3 separate regions of the Homo sapiens genome follow, and regions 1 and 2 are each linked to region 3. The links are contacts of gene promoters, found by promoter capture Hi-C in blood cells and fetal thymus (Javierre and others, 2016). All regions are on one chromosome and are shown on one strand. The core of a region is centred on a gene start or on the middle of the fragment in contact, and the rest is flanking DNA. Distances in the headings are between cores, read along the strand shown.

What was found. The method cuts DNA at HindIII sites, captures the fragments that hold promoters and counts their contacts. A CHiCAGO score of 5 or more calls a contact.
Region 1: a contact is called between a fragment that was not itself captured here and the fragment with the promoter of TAMM41 in region 3, in 1 of 17 cell types (fetal thymus). The highest score is 5.4, in fetal thymus.
Region 2: a fragment that was not itself captured here is called in contact with the fragment with the promoter of TAMM41 in region 3 in 2 of 17 cell types (fetal thymus and total CD4 T cells); the score reaches 6.4 in fetal thymus.

Annotation. Positions count from the first base shown.
Region 1 is chr3:11,360,972-11,365,328 of GRCh38, forward strand. It overlaps ATG7 (autophagy related 7), which reads left to right. Exons shown (of 21, transcript NM_001349232.2): 17 at 1,842-1,957; 18 at 3,688-3,763. Among named protein-coding and RNA genes, the nearest start is that of ATG7, 91 kb to the left of the region's middle. RefSeq lists an enhancer at 3,310-4,357. The HindIII fragment of the contact is 878 bases long and covers 1,993-2,870 here.
Region 2 is chr3:11,380,633-11,384,690 of GRCh38, forward strand. The region is part of intron 19 of ATG7 (autophagy related 7); the gene reads left to right. Among named protein-coding and RNA genes, the nearest start is that of ATG7, 110 kb to the left of the region's middle. The HindIII fragment of the contact is 1,202 bases long and covers 978-2,179 here.
Region 3 is chr3:11,845,634-11,849,611 of GRCh38, forward strand. TAMM41 (TAM41 mitochondrial translocator assembly and maintenance homolog) reads right to left here and starts at 1,252. Exons shown (of 8, transcript NM_001284401.2): 1 at 869-1,252. The coding sequence starts at 1,003. The HindIII fragment of the contact is 19,949 bases long and covers 1-3,978 here.

The DNA.
Region 1 (4,357 bases), core at 1,182-3,681, 480 kb before region 3:
GTTCCTTGTTCACCAATATAAACGCGGCTACAAACCATATTTTTGGAAAGCTTATTGAGGAAACCACAGCAGACTAGTCCCTGATAGCACTCCGTATTGTCTCCGGTGCTTCTCTTAGTCAAGATAACATTACAAATCAGGAGTCTAAAGACCAGATTCCATCAATGGCTTGACACTGCCTCCCAGGTAGTTCTAAAAAGTCTCTTAGGTTCCCTCTACCTTTGCAAAATAGGAGTGATGTGTAGGCTTGTCAGATTTAGTAAGTAAAAATATAGGATTCCCAGCTAACTTTGAATTTCAGTTAATAATGAATTCTTTTTTTTTTTTTTTTGAGACAGAGTTTCGCCCTGTCACCCAGGCTCGAGTGCAGTGGCACAATCTCGGCTCCCTGCAACCTCTGCCTCCTGGGTTCAAGTGATTCTCCTGCCTCAGCCTCCTGAGTAGCTGAGATTACAGGTGTGTGCCACCATGCCCAGCTAATTTTTGTATTTTTAGTAGAGACGGGGTTTCACCATGTTGGTCTGGCTGGTCTCGAACTCCTGACCTCGTGATCCACCTGCCTCAGTCTCCCAAAGTGCTGGGATTACAGGTGTGAGCCACCACGCTTAGCCAATAATGAATAATTTTTTGGTATATGTCCCATGCAATATTCAAGACCCACTTATACTAAAAATTTATTTATCTGAAATTCAAATTTAACTGAGTGTCTTGTATTCTCCCTAGCAATGCTAATAGAGGAGGGAAGAATACCTGCCCTGTCAACTCACAGTGCAAAGTGGGTCAAGTGCGACAGTGCTTTGAACAGCAAGACTACACTGTACAAATTAAGATTCTATGACTTTCAGAACTCCACACAAGTCAGTCTGTATGTAGGTCTGTTCCTTTATCAGAACAGATAACGATTTCCAGTGAAACAATGCAGAGATGTTTTCTGTAACCTCCCCTCTATTTTTCCTTTGTTTTAAAACTTTTCCCTTAATAACTCATATCTCTTTTGGATGACTGGCTTTTATGCCCTCCCAATATAAAGAAAAGAAGATGACCATTCTCTTTTATGGAGAAAGATGGCTTGATGATCTCTGTTATGGTGTTATAATATATAGCTGGTCTTGTTATTTAGTGATTGTCAACAAATACGATTAGTGGTCCCTTGCAGTAAAGTCCCATCTGCTCATAAGGTAAAATTTTTATAGAGTCAAAAATATCTCTAACAACCTCTTAATTTGCCCAGAGTTGGATGGTTAGACTCTCTTTGGTTGAACCAGCAAAGGCTTGTGCTTAGAGCCATGTTGTAGAAAAAAAAAATACTTGTAGTAAACCCTAGAATCACACAGAGAGGTGATGCCCATGTTGTGAGAGGCACATAGGAACTGAGGGCCGCAGGAATAGTAAATTGTTGCTCCCATCTCACGGTCACTTTGAGGTGTTAGCTCAGTTAAAATGGCAGGGCAGAATCATTTGCACTTTTCAAATCATTGTTCCTTTCTGTGTCTCTGTCACTTAACTACCAAGCACAGTAGAACTGAATTGAGTCACTTAAAGGAACACATGATGCAGTTCCATTATATGAGGCAGCTAAGCCCTCATTTTTGGTTAATATCCCCCAATCTGTTTAGGCTACTGATCCTTTTTAGCATATCACCTCATTTAGTTACCTAAATTGTATATTTTGTTTATCTTGATAATCTCAAGAAATGATGTACTTGAGGCTGGATGTTCTTTGCCAACAATGAGCATCTGGTTATAATTTAAAGCTTTGTCACAGAGGATTTCATACTTGAGACAGCTAGAGTTGAATGGAGTAGAACGTTCTGCACACACCAATGATTGTTTCTTTGCAGTCAACCAGAGACCGGACCTTGGACCAGCAGTGCACTGTGAGTCGTCCAGGACTGGCCGTGATTGCAGGAGCCCTGGCCGTGGAATTGATGGTATCTGTTTTGCAGCATCCAGAAGGGTGAGTTTGCTAGTAGGAGATGAGTATTTAAACAAAGCTTTTGTAGGCAGTTGTTCATCAGTGTCTCCCATGGCCTTTTCTCAGTCTGACTTTACAGAGAATTTCACTATTTCACCCTCAAAAAAACAAGACTAGAAAAAGCAGGTCTGGTTCTTTGGGCTGAGATAACTTGGCATGTTTCCTTTGTGGCCACATTTCTGCATCTTTCCGGACAAAGTCACTATGGTTTATTTTATTTTTCCAACGCTTATATAGGGCTTACTTTGTGCTAGGCACTGTTCTAAGCACCTTAGAAATTTTGCCTCCTTCAATCTTTTTTTTTTTTTTTAACGAGACGGAATTTCGCTCTTGTTGCCCAGGCTGGAGTGTAATGGCACGATTTTGGCTCACTGCAACCTCTGCCTTCTAGGTTCAAGTGATTCTCCTGCCTCAGCCTCCCAAGTAGCTGGAATTACAGGCATACGCCACCATGCCCGGCTGATTTTTGTATTTTTAGTAGAGATGGGGTTTTGCCATGTTGGTCAGGCTAGTCTTGAACCTCTGACCTCAGTGATCAGAAGTGATTCACCCACCTTATCCTCCCAAAGTGTTGGGATTACAGGCGTGAGCCATTGCACCCGGCCTCCTTTAATCTTCATAGCAAACATATTAGGAAAGAACTATTATTATTAGTCGCAGTTTTGATGGGGAAATCAAGGCATAGTGAGGATAAGTAAGTGGCCAAATTTACATAGTAAATGGAAAAGCCAGGGTTTAGCTCAACCAGTGTGGCTCCAGACTATGTTTAATGACTTTGTTATGCTGTTTGCAATACAGGCAGCAGAAAATCGAATTTTTGAAAGATTTATTTTTCCAGTTCTCAGAAAGTCAATATGCAAATTAACATGAATATTCTATTTCTTGTGTGACTCAAAGCTTTCCTCAGCAGTTGAAAATTGTGGTTGTATATGTAACTAGTATGGGTACTCTGAGATAAATGAAAAGCGGGGCTTTTTTGTCTTCCTCTTTGTCATCCACCTTAGCTATCTGTCATTTAAGTTTATTGCCACTCTCTGACAGGAAGTATTTGGGATAAAATCTTTGAGAGCTGACTTTATGCTTCCTTGACACTGAGCCTCTGTCTGCCACATTTGCCCTGGTCATAGTTTAAACACCAGGTCCTGTGTCACATCTTTTTGGTGCCACAAGTATCACTCCATTGTTCAGAGAGTAGTGTATTAGTTCTGCCCAATTCATTCTTCACTTTTATTTCTTCCATTTCATTAGCATTTATATCAGCTCAAGAAGTTAAGGTTAGAAAATTTTCCACTTCAAATTTTCAGTACAGAAATGTGCTGTGATGTTTGACAAGACTATTTCATAGTAAGTGAGTTAATGTTTATTGGCCTCTGATATGCCGAACATTGCACTCGGCAGTTGATGTAGTAGATTCCTCATTTATTAATCAGAGCTCCCTCATTCCTACTTTATAGATGATGGATCTGAAGCACAGAAAAGTTAAGCAACTTGCCTATGGTCACAAGCTCAGGTCTTTCTGACTCCAAACCATGCATGTTTAAATTACTCTTCTTGCCCTTTGTCCCAGGGAAATTAGTTTTTTGCTAACTTACACTGCCCAGCAAGGGGCATTTTAGTTATCCTTATGAATCTTATGTAGATTTCTGCTAGATCATCCTCCCATGTGTTAAACTTGGATTAAATGAGCAGCTCTGATTGTTTCCTGTCCTCAGGGGCTATGCCATTGCCAGCAGCAGTGACGATCGGATGAATGAGCCTCCAACCTCTCTTGGGCTTGTGCCTCACCAGGTTAGTGATGTGGAAGTGAAATCACAATTCTTTTGGTACAGGGGGAAAGCATGTGGGGTCTCTTTGCCATTCCATCTGCCCAGCCCACTTCATATCCACCCTACTTACCCTGCAGCTGGGATTTCAATGGGAGAGCTTTCTGACCACCTGGAAGGTATTCCATTCTGCGGGATAGTGATGGGAGGAAATCACGAACGAGAAGCATTGCCCAGAGTCTTTGATGCGTTTTGTAAACTGACTAGAGGCCTCATAATGCAATAGGAACAGAAAAAACAGGCTTTGGAATCAGTCATACAATGGTTTAAATCCCAGCCCTGCCGTTATAAAGATGGCCTTCTTTGGCCAAGTCACTAAACTTCTCTGAGGCTTAGTTTTCTTATCTGTAACATAGAGAAGGTAATGCTGACATCACCTGGTAGTTGTATGGATTATGGATGGTTGCTAGAAAGGGCTCAGCAACAGTGTATATCATAGGCCCTCAACAAACAATGCCTGCTGTTTCTTTACTGTTGCTTGTTATTATTATTGACTCTGAACCCAAATAGAAAACCTTTATAGGCAGGCATGAGAAAAACATTAGAAGCATGCAGGGTC
Region 2 (4,058 bases), core at 329-2,828, 460 kb before region 3:
CGGATACCATCTGAGTGATTTTTACATGCACACTGTATGTGATAGCTGATTTCCTTTCAAGTGTTCCTTTCAGCCTTCTGCTGCCCAGCGACTTGACCTGGGCTTTTAAGGCTCATGATTGCTGATAAGTAAAGATTTTCATGTTGAAGTGCTATACAAAATAATGTTGGTGACCACTAATCCCCAACTGTGGCTTCTCAGTTACAATTTGGAACTATTTTTCGTGTAGCCTTCGTCTGTCTGCCACTGTGGAAGAAAGAGAATTCTAGGGATGTATTTCTCTATTCTGAGTTGACAAGCTTCCTTTGAAAACTGTACTTGGGCTATATTTTATGGGAAGCACAATCCTGACCAGTTTCTCTAAAAATTGAATGTAGAATTGACAAGCAATGTTGATAAATTTGGTTACGTTTAGATGCTCAAAAATTGAGACTAATTATTTTCTTTTTGCTTCCGAAGTAAACTAAGCCTGTTTTATTATGCATCCCAAGTGCCTATGTTGAGATTTCAAGCTTAGACTTTGTCAGTAGTTACCCATGAGCCCATTCTTTCTGTAGTTTCCTTTAAGATATATCTGCTCAAGCCAGGACCTCAAGGATGTCTGCATGCACCCCCATCTTCAGAAATGCAAGTTTTAGGATTGTATACTACATCTTTAGTGGAGCAGATTTTTTTTTTCTTTGAATGGTTGAGCTAACTGGTCTCAAAATAACTTGGCAGTATTAATTTTCATACTGAAATCATTTGGCACAGGTGCCAGGTTTTCTATGGCTTTATGTTGGTCTGGCTAGTCAATGAAATAAAGATAATTGGGTTCTCTAAGTGAAATGCAAACACTCATTCATTCTTGTTCTATTTCTAATTAAATTAGCCTTTCAGATACTGTTTATAAAAGAATCACAAGCATACCATCTAACTGGGCGTTCCTTATACTTTAAAAGAGAATAGCTTAGCATTTTTCTTTCACACTTATTGTAAGCTTTTAATTAAATATAGGTATCACTTTTTTGTTAGCAAAATTATTTCCTCTTGGTGATCATTTTGAGAGTCCTGCTTTACATAAACATGTTGGACGATTTAATACAAACTGACTTGGATTTTAACAGCTGTGCTATTCCCATAGCGGTCACTTTTCATGTGGTCTGAGTATTAAATTTCTTTTGTCCTGGAAAGGTTGCTTCATTGGTGCACGTATTTCCTTACAGTAGAAACGCAGCATTTACTTACTTGGCTACCTTCTTTATTTGCTTAGGAGATTGTCATTCTCTATTATCTGCAAACCCAACATTAATACTTTAAAATGACAAATCCAATTACATTTTCATTTCTGTGTATTTGAATTTTTCTTAATGTATATTTAGTATAATACATGTTATACAGAGTCATGTCATAGTTGTTGTTTCAAAAGATTGGGGCTAAAAATTACTTTTAAAAATTTATCCTTTGACATTCATGAAGTAATTTTTTCCTTTGGTAGTTTTCAGTATGTTTCCTCCTCCCCACCAGGATCAAGGCCATGCTTGTGTCTTGATTTAACCACAAATAGAGACAGACTGGGGAAGTAGAATAAGTTTCTGCTGAATAGTGAAGCACTTGTTCATTATCTTATTTATTAAAAACAAACAAAGCAATACATTATATACACATATATATAGAGAGAGAGAGTGCGAGCACGCACGCACGCGAGCGAGAGCTTTTTATGTAGCCTGAGGTGGGGAAGAATACAGTGCTTTGCTTCTAAAGCAGGAAAGTTGGAACATTTATCCATAAATCATTTCTTATCCTATGTGATCTTAGGTTGGCACATAACGAGGTGAATTGTTCCATCTTAGGGGAAAAATATTGAAGGATGGTGGGGAGAGGTGGGTGGTGAGGAGTCACTTTCATTCCAGTTTCTACTTATTGTCTTGCAGAACTTTCTAAACAGATGGTATTTGTCAATGAAATTTCAAAAGACCTTATTTGACGTTTATATGAGTTGCTCTTTACTTCTACAAAGAAATTCCAAGCTAACTAGAGTATTGTGGTGTTACTACCAGAGGGAAAAGTATAATTTTTAAAATCAATATTCCTGAAAGAATTTCCTGTAGTGCATTAAATTACTTTGTTATTGTTAGACTTTCACCTAAATATTTTTTGGCAGAGTATTTTTGGGTAACTTTCTATTGATATAATTTTAAGCTTAACAGAAACATTGGAAGAATAGTACAAGGAACTCCGGTATACACTTTACCCACATTCATCCATTGTTAACATTTTGCCCCACGTATATTTGCTGTCGTCCTCCAATCCCTCCTTCTTCCCTTCCCCTACCCCATTTTTTTCTTGAAATTTTGAGAGTAAGTTGGAGACATTCTGATCCTTTAAAACTGAATGCTTCAATGTGAATTCCAAAGAACAAAGACATTCTCTTACCTAAACACAATATCCTTATCAAATTCAGGCAATTTAATGTTTGCACAATACTATTTTCTAATCCACAGTCTGTGTATTCAATGTTGTTGTTTATACCAGTTAATGTTCATTATAGGTTTTTTCCTTCCAGACCAGGATCCAGTTGAGGATCAAACATTGCATTTAGTTGTCGTGTCTCTGGCTCCCTTCAATCTGGAAAAGTTACTTCATCTTTCTTTATCTTTCTTAACTTCAGTGTTTTGATATTTTGCCAGTTATTTTTGTAGAATTTCCCTCCATGTGGATTTGTCTGATGTTTCCCTATGATTCGATTCAGGTTATGAATTTTTGGTGGAAATACCAAAGAAGTGATGCTGTCTCCTCATGTCAGGAGTTATATAATATATTATATACCTTTCGGTGATGCTAGTTTTCCCTTTTCCATATTTCTGACTACCTTCTCCAACAGTGAGAAACCTGCAATCTCGGCTCACTGCAACCTCCGCCTGCCTCCCAGGTTCAAGCGATTCTCCTGCCTCAGCCCCACAAATAGCTGGGACTACAGGCACTTGCCACCATGCCTGGCTAATTTTTTGTATTTTTAGTAGAGACAGGGTTTCACTCCATTGGCCAGGCTGGTCTCTAACTGCTGACCTCGTGATCCGCCCGCCTCAGCCTCCCAAAGTGCTGAGATTACAGGCGTGAGCCACCGCATCCAGCCGTATCCTGGATATATTTACTCACTTGCTGAAGTCTAGAATAATACAGGAAGTAGTTTCAAAATTGCTAGCCCATACTACTACAGAAAATAAACCTAGAACCTTCAGTTCCTATTTGTGCATAGTTCTTTTTTTCCTAGGTAAAATTTATATATGGTGAAATGTATGAATCTTAAAACAACTCCGTAAGTTTTAACAAATGTATACACCCATGTAACCCACACTCTTCCTATCAAGATATTAGTGTTTTTCCATCACTCCAGAAAGTTCCCAGGTACCCTTTCCCAGTCAATTCTGGGGGAAGGGGAAGTATGTTGTATATTATGACTAGTCCTTCTCTAAAAGGAGTAAAGCTAGGCAGCTTCAGGTGTTCTTTGCAATAATAACCTTGTTTCTGGTACCCAGAAGTTGACCAAAACCTTTTTTCAGACCTGCAGAGTCAGGAGCAGGACTGTGCAGGAGGAGACTGCGTGCAGAGTATTCTTGCTCTTGTTGCACAATTCTATTACTCACAACCTTCTTGATAGTGCAAGAACAGCCTGTTGTGAAGAATCAGGCTCCAAACTTGGTTTGCATACCATCTGGGACCTGCGCAGATGCAGCAAGATGTGCCCAGAAACCTGATCTTGAGATTTCAGTGATTAGCAACCTTAATAATACACTCATTCTGGTGTTGACTATGCAATAGGTTCTTCTGTTGATGGGTTATGATTAAACTCCTCAAAGTGACTTGCTATTAGCTTTCTGTGTGTATCTGGGCATATATCTTGAAGAGTGATAGGGTAAGGGTTAGGTAGGAATAATAAATGTCAGCTGGTAAATCGTACTTTGTTTTGGCCTTGGTTATAGCCAGCCTGTCCATTTATTTTTTTGATATTATATAATCCTACCTACCTTCTATCATGTTTTCTTGTTACTTATGAAGCATGAAAGGCTAGGCATGGT
Region 3 (3,978 bases), core at 2-2,501:
AAATATTAAATAGTAGTGTAAGTGGGAAACAGAGGAAATCCAAGCAACAGCATAGATGGCCTCACCAGGAAGTGAACAGGCAGGATGTTAATCAGAAGACAGACTACAGTCAGGTATCCAGACGCAGGGGGCCCCATTAAAACCTGCACACTGAATTCTGCAAATTACAAGGAAAACTGTACCCTTACTGAGGCTGTGCTGAGCCAACTCTGAAAAGTAACAATGCCTAGTCTCAAACAGACCGTTGTTAAAAGTGCTGAGCGAGGGTAAATACACTGGTCACGCACTAACTTTTGATGTTAGTTACTTTCACTGCACCTGCCCTGGCCCTACAACCAGTCCGCCAACTTCCTGAAGTCAGAAGATCATTTTGCATTTTCTCCTACATTTATAGAGGTGACTCTCAACAAACTTGGCTGCGCATTAGAATCACCTGGGACGTTTCTTAAATTCCTGAAGCCCAGGCCTCATCCCAAACCAATTAAATCAGAATCTCCATCGGCGGAAGCCGAGCATTAGGATTTTCTTAAAAGCTCCCCAGAAAATTCCGATGTCCAGCCGACTAAAACACTGAAAGAACCTGATAACGATTTCTTTTCCTTTCTTCCATTTGCCCCTGCAGCAGTTTTTCCTTCTGCCTAACTGCTTCTCCTGCTCTAGACCCACGTGGATTCCTAAGTATCCTTCAACACCGTCGCTTCAACTCGCGCTGTCGTTATACTAGGAAGGCAGGCCTATGGTTCACTCTGCTAGTGGACACGTGGAGTGTGCAGAGCGGACAGGCAGCTCTCCGACTCTGAAGGAATCGAGGGCAAAACGGGACTCGTGAGAACAGACAGTTCCCCGTCGTGGGGCTGCCCGGGCTCACCTTCTGGTCTGAACTCGGCCCTGCCTGGCGGTACACCCCGGAGCCGTAGACGAAAGCCAGACTCAGCTCCTCGGGGAAGTGAGACAGGATCTTGCGGAAGGTCACCCACGAGCTCTGCAGCGTCTGCAGCGCCATGGGGTCGAGGCTAACAGGGGACACTCAGCGCAGCAGGGCGAGGACAACCGGGCGGGGAACAGACACCGGGTAGGCGGTTTAGGGTGGGAAATGGAAGTCGGAGACTGGATCGAGGGACACAAGGCTGAGTGTGGGGTGGGACTGCAAGCACACGCAAGGATTGGGGCGTTGGGCCACGAAGAGCAGCGGCGAGAAGACGCAGCCCAGATAGGCTCGGGTGGGCGGCGGTCGCACAGGCAGAGCTTCCGTCCCTTGCTACGCCCCACGCACGCACAGGCGCTTCCAAGACGCAAGAGGCGGTGCTCGCCTTAGTGTGGGGAACGCGAGGCTTTGCATTGTCCCCTCGTGGTCGGAGGAGTGCCCTACAGGCTGGCGGCTAGGTTGCGACTTGGACAAATCGGCGGAGGCGAGCGTCACCCGACTCCGCGGGCCCTGAGCCTTGATAGCCTCTGTACTTCTCTCTTCAAACTACGGTTTAAAGAATGACTATAAAATCGGGAGCGTATTGAAGGTTTTTAAGTGAGGCGACACTCACATAATATGGAACTAGCCGTTCTGAAATGGACAGTGTAGTAGCATGTAGTGCCTTCACAATATTGTGCCCCCATCATCGCTCTAGTTCCAAAATTGCAGATTTCGAAGATTTGGAAAAACACAAAATTAAAATGATGCCCAATCCCGCCATGTAGAGAATACCACCGTCAAGATTTGACGGAGACTTCTTCACGCTAAAGCCCTTTTCAAATACAAGGGTGGATATGGGAGTGCACAGACGTTCTCTGATACTTGCATTTAATTTCAAGGGTGGATCACAGTTTTTGCCCCCTTGCCTTGTGGAATGGTCTCACAAAGGGTGCTTCAAATGCAGTTTCTGGAGGAAACAGGACCCTAGGAGTAGAAAAATCTTACAGCTCTCCTCTTTGTATAACTGGAGAAACTTGCTGAAGATTACCATTCAGGAGGTGGTTTGACTTCCAGGACAGAAACTTTTTCAACTACCCTCTCCTTCCTCCCCAAAATACACTACCTCTCAAAAATAATAGAAATAGTAATAGCTAACATTCAGGTAATGTTGACACATTTTCACATGCACTTCTCACTGAGCACCCTCTAGTGCCCTGTGGCAGGAGGGCCTTGGTTTTACTGATGGCCAAGCTAAGGCTTAGAGAGGTAAAGCCAGGTGATAGGATCACATCAGCCTGTGGCAAAACTAGAGCTAAACCCAGGTCTGGCTCCAACTCTGGGATTTTTTCGGAAATTCTGCTCTGTCCTTGAAGGGTTTTGAGCAAGGACTTATGTAATTCACATGTTAGCCTGAATTGTGGGGGACTGATTAGACAGTTGTTATCATAGTTCCCCCATGAACTGGAAACGGCTAGGCCAAGGTCTTAGGAGCAGGGATGGGATTAAATCAATTGGAAAAATGATTACTTGCACTCACACTCTGGGCCTGCACTGAGATGAAGAGATCTGAGCTGCCTGCTGCCCTGCAGGAGCTAGGGGTCTGTAGAGGAGAGGAGACAGAACTGCAAATCAGAGTAGAATTTGGGTAATGCAGCCAGGTACCCAGCACAGTGCCGGAATGTAATGTCCCTCCAATGGGAACGTCAGTCAGTTCTGGGTGTTGGGGAAAGGGACCAGAAGAGGTTTCACAATGATGGCATTTTGAGCCAGGCCTGGAAGCTGGGTAGGAGTTTATCAGGTAGAAGATAGATGGGAAAATTCAACCAAGAAAGAATTGAAAGGACTCGGTGACAATAATACTAATAATAGGTGTCATTATTAAGCACTTAGTATGCCCAGGCACTTTTTAGACTTCTTTGGGGCTTTTCTGTTTTTGTTTTTTTTTTGAGACCGAGTCTTGCTCTGTTGCCCAGGCTGGAGTGCAGTGGCACGATCTCAGCTCACTGTGACCTCTGCCTCCTGGGTTCAAGCAAGCATGCCTGGCTAATTGTTGTATTTTTAGTAGAGATGGGGTTTCACTGTGTTGGCCAGGCTGGTCTCGAAATCCTGACCTCTAGTGATTTGCCCACCTCAGCCTCCCAAAGTGCTGGAATTACAGGCGTGAGCCACTGCACCCAGGCTTTTTATACTTGTTTCTTTTCATCACTCCAGAGATCCTATGAGGCAGGTTCTCTAAGATGATGATATTTTTCATACGAGGAAACAGAGGTCCTAAGAGGAGCAGTAAATGTTCCAAAGTCACACAGGAAAGTGGTGAAGTCGGGGTTTGAACCTAGGGCTACCTACCTCTAAAGGCCAAGGTCTTTACCACCATGTTTAAGTGTCCTCTACAGCGGCTTGCAGGGTGAGAGAAGGAAATGGGAAGAAAGCAGGCACTCAGGCATCAGCCAAGAGTCAGGAGCAGCAGCAGTAGCCGCAGCAACAAGCAGGAGACCAGGGCAAGGGAGCGGAGAGAGGCCGTTTGTCTGCGGCCCCTGGTGTGGGCATGGTCACTTCCGTTCATTTTTACTACATATCGCCCTTGCCCAGGGTGCCGGAATCAGAGTGCACTCACCGTGGAATTACACTGAAGCCTCTCACCCAAAGACAGTGAATAAATCTCATTACCAGCCGGTTCCTTTTTTATTTCCTTCCTTCCCTTGGGGAAATAATTCAACGTCATTGGATTTTTCCTGTTTGCAAAAGTAATCCATGTTCATAAAAATGTAAACATTATGAAATACATACATCATGCCCCAGAAATAGCCACGGTAATCTTTGGCACATATTCCTTCCAATATTTTTCTATGAATATATTAACATTAAAAACAATTTTAAGTGGATTCCTAGGATAGATACTATTTTGCAATTTGCTTTTTTTGCACTTAGCGTATCAGGGACAATGTTCTGTGTCAGAATATATAGATTTCCCTCATTCCATGTATTAGTAGCAAATTATTCTAAGATATGGATATGCCATAATTTTGTTTAAAATTTTTTGTTTAAAAGAAAGTGTTTAAACATTTTCTTTC